2 separate regions of the Homo sapiens genome follow, and region 2 is linked to region 1. The links are contacts of gene promoters, found by promoter capture Hi-C in human tissues and cell types (Jung and others, 2019). All regions are on one chromosome and are shown on one strand. The core of a region is centred on a gene start or on the middle of the fragment in contact, and the rest is flanking DNA. Distances in the headings are between cores, read along the strand shown.

Region 1 (7,698 bases), core at 2,854-5,353:
ATTCATGTTTAGCTTAATACAGATACAGATGGTTATGTACAGAAATATTTATAGGTATGTGTATATAGATGTGCTAGTAAACATATGTGTGCAGTTGGCCCTCTGTATCCATGAGTGCTGCATCTGTGGATTCCACCAACTAGGAATCAGAAAAAAATGGATGGTTACATCTGTACTGAACACACACAGACTTTTTTTTTCTTGTCATTATTCCCTAAACAATACAGAATACCAACTATTTACATAGCATTTACATTGCATTAGGTATTTTAAAGAATCTAGAGATGATTTGAAGTATATGGGTGGGGGTGGGGCACAGTGGCTTACACCTGTAATCCCAGCACTTTAGAAGGCCAAGGCAGGCGGATCGCTTGAGCCCAGAAGTTCAAGACCAGCCTGGGCAACATGGTGAAATCCCATCTTTACTAAAAGTCAAACAAATTAGCTGAGTGTGGTGTTGAGCCCCCAGGAGGCGGAGGTTGCAGTGAGCCAAGTTTGCACCACTGTACTCCAGCCTGGGTGACAGAGTGAGACTCTGTCTCAAAAAAAAAAAAAAAAAAAAAAAAAAAAAAAAAAAAAGAATAGTTTCACCACCCTAAAAAATATCCCATCCTTCACCTATTCAATCTTCTTCTCCCTCCCCTCAATCCTCTTGCAACCACTGATCTTTTTACTATTGCTATAATATTGCCTTTTCCAGAATGTCATATAACTAGAATCATACAGTATGTAGCATTTTCAGACTGGCTTCTTTCACTTAGCAATATGCATTTAAGTGTCATACATGTCTTTTTGTGGCTCAAGAACTCATTTCTTTTTATTGCTGAATAATATTCCATTGTATGGATGTACCACAGTATGTTTATTCATTTAACTACTGAAAGATATCTTGGTTGCTTCTAGTTTTTGGAGTTAGGAATAAAATTGCTATAAACATTTGTGTGTAGGCCAGGTGTGGTGGTTCATGCCTGTAATCTGTAACCCCAACACTTTGGGAGGCTGAGGTAGGGGGATCCCTTGAGGCCAGGAGTTAAAGACCAGCCTGGGCAAAATAGTGAGACCTTGTCTCTACTAAATTTTTTTTTTTTTTTTTTTTTTTTTTTTTTGTGAGATGGAGTTTCGCTCTTGTTGCCCAGGCTGGAGTGCAATGGCACGATCTCAGTTCACCGCAACCTCCGCCTCCCAGGTTCAAGTGATTCTCCTGCCTCAGACTCCCGAGTAGCTGGGGTTATGGGCACGCGCCACCACTCCTGGCTAATTTTGTATTTTTAATAGAGAAGGGGTTTCTCCATATTGGTCAGGCTGGTCTTGAAATCCTGGCCTCAGGTAATCCACCTGCCTCGGCCTCCCAAAGTGCTGGGATTACAGGAGTGAGCCACCACGCCTGGCCATCTACTAAATTTTTTTTTAATTAGCTGGGCTTTTTGGCACCTGCCTGTGTTACCAACTGCATGGGAGGCTGAGGTGAGAGGATTGCTTGAGTCCAGGAAGTTAAGGCTAAAGTGAGCTGTGACTGCACCACTGCATTCCAGCCTGGATGACAGAGCAAGACCCAGTCACTAAAAGAAAAAAAATCTAGTTCTCACAAGCAATATATATATATATATATATATATATATATTTTTTTTTTTTTTTTTTTTTTTTTTTTTTTTTGAGACAGAGTCTCACTCTGTCAACCAGGCTGGAGTTCAGTGGTGCAATCTTGGCTTACTGCAACCTCCGCCTCCTGGGTTTAAGCAATTCTCCTGCCTCAGTCTCCTGAGTGGCTGGGATTACAGGCGTGCCCCACCACGCCTGGCTAATTTTTTTGTATTTTTAGTAGAGACGGGGTTTCACCATGTTGGTCAGGCTGGTCTTGAACTCTCCTAACCTTGTGATCCGCCTGCCTCGGCCTCCCAAAGTGCTGGGATTACAGGCATGAGCCACCGTGCCTGGCCCTCACAAGCAATATTTCAAAGGTATATTTCTGGGTTTTATTTCCATGATAATTATGTCTGCTGTGGGGAAGACTTATCTTTCAAAGAATTTTAATATTTAAATCAATGGGAAGAGAAAAACCAGGCAGTGGGATGGGTGTGCCATATGTAAATTACATTATACTAGTTTGTTTTGCAATGGTGTTTTCATTTTTTCTCAGGTATACCAGCCATATAATTATTTTTAACGATATGTTACATTTTTATTCTCTAAAATTATGTCACTCATTTGCCAAACATTTACTGAGTACTTGCGCAAGAGAAAGGAAGGGACAGTGACATTCGTTCTTCTATTCGACACAGATTTATTGAGCCTATCTTGCAAAGAGCACTTTGCAAGAAGACTGGGATACAACTTTAGACAATCTATACAGTCTCTGTCCTCAGGGAGTTTACAGTCTCATGAAAGAGAGAATCTGTAAACAGTTACACAAATTACTGTATTTAAATTCTATGAAGGAAAGGAATGTTATGAGATGTGTCATTATAGATGTAACTTTCAATACTTTTCTCACCTAATTATCACAATCACTGATGTAGTTTACAAATGAGGAAAATCAGGCTGAGACTGAACTACATGCCAAGGGCCCGAGAGCAAGTAAGTCCTTGCAAGTGAAAAACAGAATGTCTAATTTAGGTCTATGTAATTCTAAAGATCATGCTTGAAAACATTGTATTATTGCCTAAATTTCACGAAACTGTGAGGGACAGACCTTATTTTGATTTTATTAATAAGAAAACTGATGCTGAGAGGAACTAGAACTAAAATCTCTTGAACAATCCCCTTATTTTTCTATTATGTTATAAGCTTCCTCAAAACATGTATGGCTTGTAAGTTTGATGATACAAACAAACCCTACATGTAGAAACTGAATAAATTTTTTGTACTTTAAAAAATATAGGATTGTTGTTGAAACAAACTACCATTAAGCAAAGCACTATATTTTAACATAATTTTGGCAAATGTCTTACATCTCTCTTCTTTGCTGATTTTGTTATTTTTCTATGTTAATCACATATTTCATTGGACAAGTCTATTGCTATGGGTGAGAACATAGAAGGAAACAGTTCAAACAAGCAAACTCACTCTTTATCAAATTATTTTGTGGAGGAAATGTTCCTGGCCAGGCGCAGTGGCCTCACGCCTGTAATCCCAGCAGTTTGGTAGGCTGAGGCGGGCGGATCACTTGAGTCTAGGAGTTTTAGACCAGTTTGGGCAAAATGGCGAAACCCCGTCTCTACAAAAAACACAAAAATTAGCTGGATGTGGTGGCGCGCACCTGTGGTCCCAGCTACTCGGTAGGCTGAGGTGGGAGCATCACCTGAGCCTGGGAGTTCGAGGCTTCAGTGAGCTGAGATCACACCACTGCACTTCTGCCTGGGACACAGAGACCCTGTCTGGAAAGAAAAGGAAAAAGGAAAAAAAAAAAAAGGGTTCCAATAAAAATTTCAATTTATGTCATTCAGAATTTCACGGATTTTTTTCAGCTATTGCAGATTCTTCAGATGACTCCATCAATGTAATAAGAACCTTGAATTCTTCTTTGCAGAGGAAAAACTGACAATATATTCATCTTTATGTGGGGTGCAGATGGGGAAAAGATTTTTAAAAGCACAATAGAAAAGGAAAGCAAGATTACTTTTATTTAAAAAACCTAGATACCTCTGCTTAAGCCTTTCTGTTGTCAAGTTGTTTGCAGCAAAAAACAGGGATATTGCAAATAGAAAAAATATGAAAGAAATCACATACATAGTGCAGGAAATATTATTAGTAATAGATTTAGGACAGAATAAATTGCCCAACTGTAACTTCGTTTATCTTTCTGCTAGAGGATCTGGTGGCCACAACAACTTATGCACATTTTCAAAGATAAATCATGGACATATTTAATAAAGATTACTTCTCTTTGCTTATTACTATCATTTGGCTTACAATGGAGCACGCAGTAACTACCTTCCTTGCCTTTCTTGAGATTCTCCTTTGGCTGCTTACACAGGAAACCAAGGCGGGGAGTGCCACGGGTGATCTCATGCTGGCATGACGTCAAGAACTCTTGACGTCAGAAGGCGGTTGCCACGGACACCGTTCGCCACCGACGGCAGAGTCGTGAAACCCCATCACTACCACACTCGTCTCCGTTTCGGCCTCTGCAGGGTGTAAGCTGCTAAAGAAGCTTCAACCTTAAGGGGGCCTCAGGGAGAGAGTTGTGCTCCTGCCGCCGAGAGCTCCACCTTCGTGGCTCTGGGTCCGGGGCCCCGGCCTGTGGCGGCGAGCGGCGGCCGCTGGAGACGAGCGGCGGCGGCAGGCGGCCAGCCCGGGTCTGCCTCGCTCCGTGCAGGGCCGGGAGAGGGATCCGCCATATTGGAGCTGGGGCCGAAGGTGCCTTGGAGCCGCGGCGCGAGGCGGGTGGAGGTGGCGGCCCTGGCCTGGATCGGGAAGGAGTCGGCTCTGCCCTGGCCCGCAAGGCTGGGGAGCTAATGAGCCTCTCTGGCTAGTCTCCTCCCCGTCCACTCCCTCCACTTTCTGCCGCCGGGACCCGGCTGGGAGCCGGCTGTGGCAGTGGCAGTGGCAGTGGCAGCGACAGGATGTTCTCCAAGAAGCCGCACGGGGACGTGAAGAAGTCCACCCAGAAGGTGCTAGACACCAAGAAGGACGCACTGACTCGCCTCAAGCACCTGCGCATCGTCATCGGTGAGGAGCGAGGGGTGGCAGCGCCGAGGCCTGGGTTGCCCGGCCTTCCCTCTCCTGGGAGCCCCTGCGGACTCTCTCTCGGGACCTGGCGCGGTGCAGGAGAGGGCAAATCGTAGCCTCTGCGGAGACGCGGGAGGGTGAATAATTCGGAGAAGCGAAAACTTGGCAGTTGGCAGCACTGATTACTGTTAACACAGTAATCTAATTTTGAGTTAATAGTCTGAACTTATTTTTTAAAATTGGTATTACTCTAAAAACTTAGATCTTTAAGACTTTGTGGGGAGACCTGGCGTTGTGGATAATGGTGTTTATAGGATATGTTTGCCAGATGACTACTGCCAACCCCACCCAAGTAAAAAGAAAAATAAAATCCTCTCTCAGACAATATAAACCTTAATCTTTCAAGTTTCTTGGCAGATGAAGACAAGGAGGTAGCAGTTACACCTCTTTGGGAAGTGGGCGGTTCCCAAAAAGCTGTGGGAAGGAGCCCCGCCCTTTTGTTAATGCACCTTGTTCATCACTAGTCATTTAGAGGGAGAACTATTATAGGTAGTTTAACTCATCCTTTGCTTCTCGAGAATTGTATATAATTCTATTTTTAATTAAAAATATTTTTTTTATCGTCTGCCCTTAAGTTCTGTTTTGCTGGTAGACCAAACAGTGCTCTAAGTTTTGAATATAATGTTAATCGACTCTTTTGAATACTTAGTCATTTGGTAGGCTGATAAAGGCTGTAATAATACTTATGGAACATCTGGTCCAGTAGTTGGATTTTTTAGATGAAGACATTTGAGATGAAAAGGAAAATTATTTCGCCTGTGTTGATACTTAGAGTTAATGGTGGAACTGGCTGAAGAAGATGCATTCATCCAGATGCCTGAATCCTAGTTCAGAGTTTATCTCGAGCTGTCCTCCTGATGCGTATTTGTTTTGGAAAGTGATGTTTATTTAGTGAAAAAAGTAAGTCCCTTATTTGAGGTACATGTTTCTCTAGTCTATTGTTTACTCATACCACCAGGATACCACCAATATTACCCAACATTTCTATGATGCTTTACTGTTTACAGTGATTTCACGTAAATTATGATAATCCTTGCAATAACTCTATAGGTAGATGATATTATTCTCCATTTTTTACCAACAAAAAAGCTGAAGTTTGGGAACATCGAGTAGTCAGCCAGCTACCAGGAGGCTGAGTCAGAATTGGAACCCAGATTTTGTGTCTCTAGTTTGTTTTTTTACTCTTTCTACATTTATGACAGCTAATCTTTGTCACAAGTAAATTGTATTTATTCCAGTGGAGTAGTAAGAAAGCAGTTAATCCAGTTTAGCGCTATAAAAAGCTCAGTTTTCAAGAAAATGTAAAGCTTCTAAATATAGTGGAGATTGTGATCTTTTTGTTTTCATTCTTCTTGAGAGTTAAGCCATTGAAATAAAGATTTAGCCGAGAATAGGACACAGTAAGTTAATGTGTGAATGCAGGCGAGGGATTCACAGGTAATGGCAGTTTGAAATTGAACACTTAATGGAGCTTGACACCTACTTGGGATAAGCTGTAGGTTAGGTAATGACACAGCTATAAAGTTGAGTTCCAATAAAGTATCGAGATTTCCTAAATTAAAGGCCATACTTTATTTATAGACTGGTTAAGGAATTATTTATATATACTTTTTTGGCATAGAGTTTTTTTCCATCTGGCAGACATGGAAAATTAAAAGGTAAATTAAGAGAGAGGTCACACATATAAGGCATTTTGTAGGACTTAGCTTGCTTGGTTTGAAAACAAAACAAAACAAAAACAAGTCTTTTATTGTTGTCGTTATTTTGTTTGAAATACAGTTAATGTAATTTCTAAGAAAATGAATGAGAGAAAGTAGAATGACAAAAACTAGTGTCTTTTAGAGGTCTGCCAATCAGGTATTTGATTTTGCAGATGGAAAATCCTTTCTGGAAGTAGGTGCGGGCTTTAAATAAGGTAAACACAATGAGGAAACTAGTTTGCAGAGTAATTGGGCATTGCCAGTTACACAGGCTTTTGATTTTTGTTTGGTCCCATAGTTCATAGTTCATATGGGACCAAACAGAACTGCCATTCACTCAGGGTACTTATGGGAGGATTCAGTGCATCTATATGTATGAGAACATAATCATAATTTAAACATCCGCTGTAAACTTTTTTCCTGGCATGTGTTCCCACTGTAGGACAATCCAAGTTAAATTTATAGAACTTGACTCTGAAGATTTAGATTTAAATCTGGTATGTTTATTGATACTGTTGCATAATTGATTTGTAAAAACTAGAAGTCAGGGTTTTCTTAAAACAGAAAAAAAAGCCTTGTCTGATTTCTAAAGCTGTTATCCTTTCTACCTACCCCCTCCCCCCCATTTTACAACTAATGGTAATGATATTATAAATTAGCACATGTAAATTGGCTAACATAATGCTTGGCATATAGTGGGTATTGACTTAGTGTTAGTTTTGTTCTACTTTACAGCTAACAGTTCAGTCCTCTTGATATAAAAATAAAAAGTGCTTATTTAGCTAAAAATATTTATTGTTAAATAATTCTGACAGCTTTATTGAGGTATAATTGGCACACAATAAACTGCACATATTTAAAGTACATAATTGAATAATTTTTACATATGTATATCTCCTGAAACCATCATAACAAATATTTAAAATATCCAATCAAGATAACAAATATAGACAGTGACAATCAGGATAATATATGTATAATCAGCTGGGTGCGGTAGCTCATGCCTGTAATCCCAGGACTTGGGGAGGCCGAGGTGGGCGGATCACGAGGTCAGGAATTCAAGACCAGCCTGGCCAACAGAGTGAAACCGGGTCTCTACTCTACTGAAAATACAAAAATTAGCCAGGCATGGTGGCGTGCACCTGTAGTCCCAGCTACTCAGGAGGCTGAGGCAGGAGAATCGCGTGAACCTGGGAGGCAGAGGTTGTGGTGAGTCGAGATCACGCTACTGCACTCCAGCCTGGGCAACAGAGCGAGACTCCGTTTCAGG
Region 2 (7,698 bases), core at 3,520-6,019, 1.4 Mb before region 1:
CTGGCCAAAGAACGTTTCACACTAAAACCTTGGAGCTGGTGACTTTTTTTTTTTTTTTTTTTTTTGACTGAAGTGCTGGATGAGATTACGATATGTGAATCCTCTAAGAAAAAATGTTAAACCTTACAGAATTTAAAAATGTCCAAAGTTTTCAATTGGCCTACCTCCGTGAACTAAGAATGGTATAATTAACTGCTAGTAATTTAAATTTGGGTTTTTTGTTCCATAGTTCAGAATTGGTTTTATAAATGTCACTTTAACTCCTGTTACTCATGATTCCTTCAGACACCAAATACTTAGTGACCACATACCATGTGCCAGGTACTCTTCTGGGTGCTGAGTAATAAGCAATAATATTTTTTAATACACCCCAGAGAATAGGCATAATATGAGGTGCTGACGGGTTCCTAAATTTGTGGTTAAAGTTAATGAAAGGAACTTATCCTTTAGTAAGTGTACAAAAGAGAGTTTAAAAAACTGAAAAAGGCCGGGCGCGGTGGCTTACGCCTGTAGTCCCAACACTTTGGAAGGCTGAGGCAGTGGGATCGCTTGAGCCCAGGAGTTCGAGACCAGCCTGGACAACATGGCGAGACCTTGACTTTATTAAAAATCAAAAAAATTAGCTGGGCATGATGGTGCATACCCGTAGTCCCAGCTACTAGGGAGGATGAGGTGGGAGAATCGCTTGAGCCCCAGAGGTGGAGACTGAAATAAGCTACGATGGCTGGCGCCACTGCACCCCAGCCTGGGGGACAGAGCATGACGCTGTGAAAACTAACAAAATGGAAAAGTTGGACGTAGATTAACTTGGAACAACAGAGGTTATAATATTCACCAAATTTTCGTTATGTATGCTGTAATGAACAGTGTTCTCAAGAAGTTTGTTACAGATTCAGCTTTGAAATGCTTTTTTCTTTTTTGCTTTACTTCAGTCAGGATTTGAATCATATTTATGAACATAAAGTACCATAAAAATCTATGAGACAAAAACAAAGAGTGTACAGTTTATCAGAGCAAATACTCCAATCAGGAAGTATATAGCTTGTGCAAAGGCTTAGGGCCAAATCAAATTATGTGTAAAACAAAGGAAAAAGTTGATTTTCCTGGCTAGGAAATAATAAATAAAACAGGATAGTGACTACCACAATGAGAACATTCAAACCATGTAATGAATTAGTAGAATAAATTTAGAGAAAAATTATAATATTTTTCATTGAGTAAAGTTCATTTCCTCCTTTTTTTAAAGCCCATTATCTGGGTGCTTACAGTCTCTGGCATAAAGAGAAACCTCATATTTTCTTTCCTTTTAGTAAGCTGATTTTCTCTCTCTCTCTCTCTGTTTTATGCAGTGAGTTCAAACATTAGGACTAATTCTCCCTATTCTTTTTCCTTTTTCCCTAACATACCTGAAGTAACTCATTAATGTTCTTTCCCTAAACTTTTGATACCACAACAGGTAAGTTTTCCCCTACTCCCCTCCACCACCACCATAACCAACATATCCATTTCTTCATTTTCTATTGTTCTAACAGTTGCCTGTCTATAAGAAATGAAAGAGATAAATTAGAGCTTTTTTCTTTTCTCAAAATGATTATCAAAGATATTGTCTATGTCCTCATACCTCATACAAGCTGGACTTTTACAGAAATATGGATGAAGATGAGAAGAAGAAAATGAACCACTCTTTCGTTACAGGGAGAAAAAGAATGTCATATTATTAATATTATCAAGTCTGTTAATGTCAGATCATTAATATTCTCAAGTCTATAAATATTAGGCTTCTGCAGTGTGTCACACACTGATCAGTTCTGCAAATAAAATAATGAATAACAATTAGGCACACAAGTAGCTGAGAATACCATATGTATTAATCAGGGTTCTCCAGAGAAACAGAACAAACAGGATATGTGTGTATACACAGAGACTACATAGAGAGAGGGACAGTGATTTATTGTAAGGAAATGGCTCATGCAGTTGTGGACTTTTAGTGAGTCCAAAATCTGAGGGAAGAGGCGGGCAAGCCTCAGAAAAGAATTGTAGTTGGACATACATGGAATGTAATCTGTTGTATTCAAAGTCTGGTGATTTAAATGGTAATCTCATCAAAAAAACACCTTCACAGAAGCATCCAGGATAACGTTTCACCAAATATCTGTGCACCATGGCCCAGCCAAGTTGACAAAATTAACCATCACACTGTGTAAACTGAGAAATGGCTTTGGGAGAGGGGAGTTCAGGGGATGAGGAAGACAGAGTCAGGAAAATCTGAAGGAGATAATGCCTCCTGTAGTATGAATAAGACTTAGCAAGGTGAAGAGGTGAGGGTGGAGGTGCAGAGAAAACAGAATTCCTTATAAAGGAATCAATATGGGAGTGAGATACTGTAAGGAGCTATAAGCAATTTAATATCACAGTATAAAATTTAACATGGAAAGTGGTGGGAAATGAAGTTGGAGAGATTATGAAAGGTCTTTTTTAAAAATAGAGTTGGGGACTCACTATGTTGCTGGGGCTGGTATCAAAGTCCTGGCCTCAAGCAGTCCTCCCACTTTGGCCTCCCAAAGTGCTCGGATTACATGCATGAGTCACCATGCCAGGCAATATAAATGATCTCCTAATTAAGTACCTTGGACTTGATTCTATAGTCAATGAATTTTGAAAGTTAAAACAGGAGTGATGAGATTAGATTTACACTTTCATTCATCAATTTAGAAATACGTTTCAGAATCAAAATTCTCAAGTTTGCAAGACTAGTTAATCTAATTGAAAAACGATAAAAAGGCTGGGCTCTGTGGCTCATGCCTGTAACCCCAGCACTTTGGGAGGCTGAGGTGGGTGGATCACTTGAGGCTAGGAGTTGGAGACCACCCTATCCAACATGGTGGGACCTCCCCCCACCGTCTCTACTAAAAATACAAAAAATAGCCAGGCATGGTGGCACATGTCTGTAATCCCAGCTACTCAGGAAGCTGAAGCATGAGAATCACTTGAACCAGGAGGTGGAGGTTGCAGTGAGCTGAGATTGTACCACTGCACTCTAGCCTGGGTGACAGAGTTAGACCCTGTCTCAAAAAATAAATAAATAAATAAATAAATAATAAAATGTATGTGGTAAAGCACGATAGATGGAAAAGGGTAGCTTGAAGAAGTAGGAAATAGTTTGCAAAATCTGGTAAATAACTAGTTGAGAAAGAGGAAAGTGTTGATGGTATTAAAGAAATTGGTGAATAAGTAAGTTCAGTTTTGATAGAATGAGTTTGAATTGCTAGGGAAGCATCTTAGAGTAGCTTTCCAGCAGTCATATGCAAGGAAGCATTCTAGACTGGGCTAGACATGAGATTAATGAACATAGATATGATGGATAAAGCTATTTTTTAAATTTTCAAGTCAGTCTCATAGCACTTTGCTTGACTACAGTAATCCTTTTAAAGGATATGAGGATCCTTTAGCTACTACCTGTCTAAAGGATCATGATTCATTTTTTAATAGGCTTTTTTCATACACTTTAAGTTCTAGGGTACATGTGCACAACGTACAGATTGGTTACATCGGTATACATGTGCCATGTTGGTTTGCTGCACCCATCAACTTGTCATTAATATTAGGTATTTCTCCTAATGCTATCCCTCCCCCAGCCCCCCCCCACCCAACAGGCCCGGGTGTGTGATATTCCCCTCCCTGCGTCCATGTATTCTCATTGTTCAATTCCCACTTATGAGTGAAAACATGTGGTGTTTGGTTTTCTGTCCTTGTGATATTTTGCTGAGAACGATGGTTTCCAGCTTCATCCATGTCCCTACAAAGGACATGAACTCATCATTTTTTATGACTGCATAGTTTTCCATGGTGTACATGTGCCACAGTTTCTTAATCTGGTCTATCATTGATGGACATTTGGGTTGGTTCCAAGTCTTTGCTATTGTGAATAGTACCGCAATAAACATACTTGTGCATGTGTCTTTATAGTAGCATGATTTATAATCCTTTGGGTATATACCCAGTAATGAGATTGCTGGGTCAAATGGTATTTCTAGTTCTAGGTCCTTGAGGAATCGCCCACACTGTCTTCCACAATGGTTGAGCTAATTTACACTCCCACCAACAGTGTGAAAGCATTCCTATTTCTCCACATCCTCTCCAGCATCTGTTGTTTCCTGACTTTTTAATGATCACCATTCTAACTGGTGTGGGATGGTATCTCATTGTGGTTTTGATTTGCATTTCTCTGATGACCAGTGATGATGAGCATTTTTTCATATGTCTGTTGGCTGCATAAATGTCTTATTTTGAGAAGTGTCTCTTCATATCCTTTGCCAACTTTTTGAGGGGGTTGTTAGTTTTTTTCTTGTAAATGTGTTTAAGTTCTTTGTAGATTCTGGATATTAGCCATTTGTCAGATGGATAGATTGAAAAAAATTTTTCCTATTCTGTAGGTTGCCTATTCACTCTGATGATAGTTTCTTTTGCTGTGCAGAAGCTGTTTAGTTTAATTAGATCCCATATGTCTATTTTGGCTTTCATTGCCATTGCTTTTGGTGTTTTAGTCATGAAGTATTTGTCCATGCCTATGTCCTGAATGGTAATGCCTAGGTTTTCTTCTAGGGTTTTTATGCTTTTAGGTCTTACATTTAAGTCTTTAATCCATCTTGAGTTAATTTTTGTATAAGGTGTAAGGAAGGGATCCAGTTTCAGCATTCTACATATGGCTAGCCAGTTTTCCCAGCACCATTTATTAAATAGGGAATCCTTTTCCCATTGCTGATTTTCGTCAGGTTTGTCAAAGACTAGATGGCTGTAGATGTGTGGTATTATTTCTGAGGCCTCTATTCTGTTCCACTGGTCTCTATATCTGTTTTGGTACCAGTACCATGCTATTTTCATTACAGTAGCCTCGTAGTATAGTTTGAAGTCAGGTAGCATGATGCCTCCAGCTTTGTTCTTTTTGCTTAGGATTGCCTTGGCTATGCGGGCTCTTTTTTGGTTACATATAAAATTTAAAGTAGATTTTTCCAATTCTGTAAAGAAAGTCAGTGGTCGCTTGATGGGGATAGCATTGAATCTATCAACTACGTTGGGCAGTATGGCCATTTTCACAATATTGATTCTTCCTATTCATGAACACGGAATGTTCTTCCATTGTTTGTGTCCTCTTTTATTTCGTTGAGCAGTGGTTTGTAGTTCTCCTTGAAGGAGTCCTTGACATCCCTTGTAAGTTGGATTCCTTGGTATTTTATTCTCTTTGTAGTAATCCTGAATGAGCGTTCACTCATGATTTGGCTCTCTGTTTGTCTGTTCTTGGTGTGTAGGAATGCTTGTGATTTTTGAACATTGATTTTGTATCCTGAGACTTTCCTGAAGTTGCTTATCAGCTTAAGGAGATTTTGGGCTGAGATGATGGGGTTTTCTAAATATATAATCATGTCATCTGCAAACAGAGACAATTTGACTTCCTCTTTTCCTAATTCAATATCCTTTATTTCTTTCTCTTGCCTGATTTCCCTGGCCAGAACTTCCAACACTATGTTGAATAGGAGTGGTGAGAGAGGGCATCCCTGTCTTGTGCCTGTTTTCAAAGGGAATGCTTCCAGTTTTTGCCCGTTCAGTATGATATTGGCTGTGGGTCTGTCATAAATAGCTCTTATTATTTTGAGATACGTTCCATCAATACCTAGTTTATTGAGGGTTTTTACCATGAAGGGCTGGTTGAATTTTGTCAGAGGCCTTTTCTGCATCTATTGAGATAATCATGTGGTTTTTGTCTTTGGTTCTGTTTATGTGATGGATTACATTTATTGATTTGCATATGTTGAACCAGCCTTCCATCCCAGGGATGAAGCCCACTTGATCGTGGTGGATAAGCTTTTTGATGTGCTGCTGGATTCAGTTTGCCAATATTTTATTGAGGATTTTCACATAGATGTTCATCATGGATATTGGCCTAAAATTCTCTTTTTTTGTTGTGTCTCTGCCAGGCTTTTGGTATCAGGATGATTCTGGCCTCATAAAATGAGTTAGGGAGGATTCCCTCTTTTTCTATTGATTGGAATAGTTTCAGAAGGAATGGTACCAGCTCCTCTTTGTACCACTGGTAGAATTCAGCTGTGATTCCATCTGGTCCTGGACTTTTTTTGGTTGGTAGGCTATTAATTATTGCCTCAATTTCAGAGCCTGTTATTGGTCTATTCAGAGATTCAACTTCTTCCTGGTTTAGTCTTGGGAGGGTGTATGTGTCCAGGAATTTACCCATTTCTTCTAGATTTTCTAGTTTATTAGCATAGAGGTGTTTAGAGTATTTTCTGATGGTAGTTTGTATTTCTGTGGAATCGGTGCTGATATCACCTTTATGATTTTTTTATTGTGTCTATTTGATTCTTCTCTCTTTTTTTCTTTATTAATCTTGCTAGCAGTCTATCAATTTTGTTGATCTTTTCAAAAAAACCAGCTCTTGAATTCATCGATTTTTTTGAAGGGTTTTTTTGTGTTTGTGTGTGTCTCTATCTCCTTCAGTTCTGCTCTGATCTTAGTTATTTCTTGTCTTCTGGTAGCTTTTGAATTTGTTTTCTCTTGCTTCTCTAGTTCTTTTAATTGTGATGCCGGGGTATAAACTTTAGATCTTTCCTGCTTTCTTGTGGGCATTTAGTGCTATACATTTCCATCTACTCACTGCTTTAAATGTGTCCCAGGGATTCTGGTATGTTGTGTCTTTGTTCTCATTGGTTTCAAAGAACATCTTTATTTCTACCTTTATTTCGTTATTTACCCAGTAGTCATTCAGGAGCAGGTTGTTCAGTTTTCATGTAGTTGTGCGGTTTTGAGTGAGTTTCTTAATCCTGAGTTCTAATTTGATTGCACTGTGGTCTGAGAGACAGTTTGTTGTGATTGCTGTTCTTTTACATTTGCTGAGGAGTGTTTTAGTTCCACTTATGTTGTCAATTTTAGAATAAGTGTGATGTGGTGCTGAGAAGAATGTATATTGTGTTGATTTGGGATGGAGAGTTCTGTAGATGTCTACTAGGTCTGCTTGGCCCAGAGCTGAGTTCAAGTCCTGGATATCCTTGTTAATTTTCTGTCTCCTTGATCTGTCTAACATTGACGGTGGGTTGTTAAAGTCTCCCATTATTATTGTGTGGGAGTCTAAGTCTCTTTTTAGATCTCTAAGAACTTGCTTTATGAATTTGGGTGCTCCTGTTTTGGGTGTATATATATTTAGGATAGTTAGCTCTTGTTGTTGAATTGATCACTTTACCGTTATGTAATGGCCTTGTCCCTTTTGATCTTTTTTGGTTTAAAGTCTGTTTTATCAGAGACCAGGACTGCAACCCCTGCTTTTTTTTTTTTTCTTTCCATTTACTTGGTAGGTCTTCCTCCATCCCTTTATTTTGAGCCTATATGTGTCTTTGGACATGAGATGGGTCTCCTGAATACAGCACACCAATGGGTCTTGACTGTTTATCCAATTTGCCAGTCTGTGTCTTTTAATTGGGGTATTTAGCCCATTTATATTTAAGGTTAATATTGTTATGTGTGAATTTGATCCTGTTGTTATGATGTTAGCTGGTTATTTCACCCATTAATTGATGCAGTTTCTTCTTAGCATCGATGGTCTTTACAGCTTGGCATGTTTTTGCTGTGGCTGGTACCGATTGTTCCTTTCCATGTTTAGTGCTTCCTTCAGGAGCTCTTGTAAGGCAGGCTTGG

The links. Contacts are between HindIII fragments. The study calls those that stand out against the background at their distance.
Region 2: a contact is called between a fragment that was not itself captured here and the fragment with the promoter of RALGAPA1 in region 1, in 1 of the 25 tissues and cell types used here (dorsolateral prefrontal cortex).

The regions. Positions count from the first base shown.
Region 1 is chr14:35,805,700-35,813,397 of GRCh38, reverse strand. RALGAPA1 (Ral GTPase activating protein catalytic subunit alpha 1) reads left to right here and starts at 4,103. Exons shown (of 42, transcript NM_001346249.2): 1 at 4,103-4,668. The coding sequence starts at 4,563. RefSeq lists enhancers at 3,957-4,056, 3,893-4,453 and a silencer at 4,137-4,376. The HindIII fragment of the contact is 4,642 bases long and covers 452-5,093 here.
Region 2 is chr14:37,189,755-37,197,452 of GRCh38, reverse strand. No RefSeq gene overlaps it. Among named protein-coding and RNA genes, the nearest start is that of MIPOL1, 4.3 kb to the left of the region's middle. The HindIII fragment of the contact is 8,563 bases long and covers 488-7,698 here.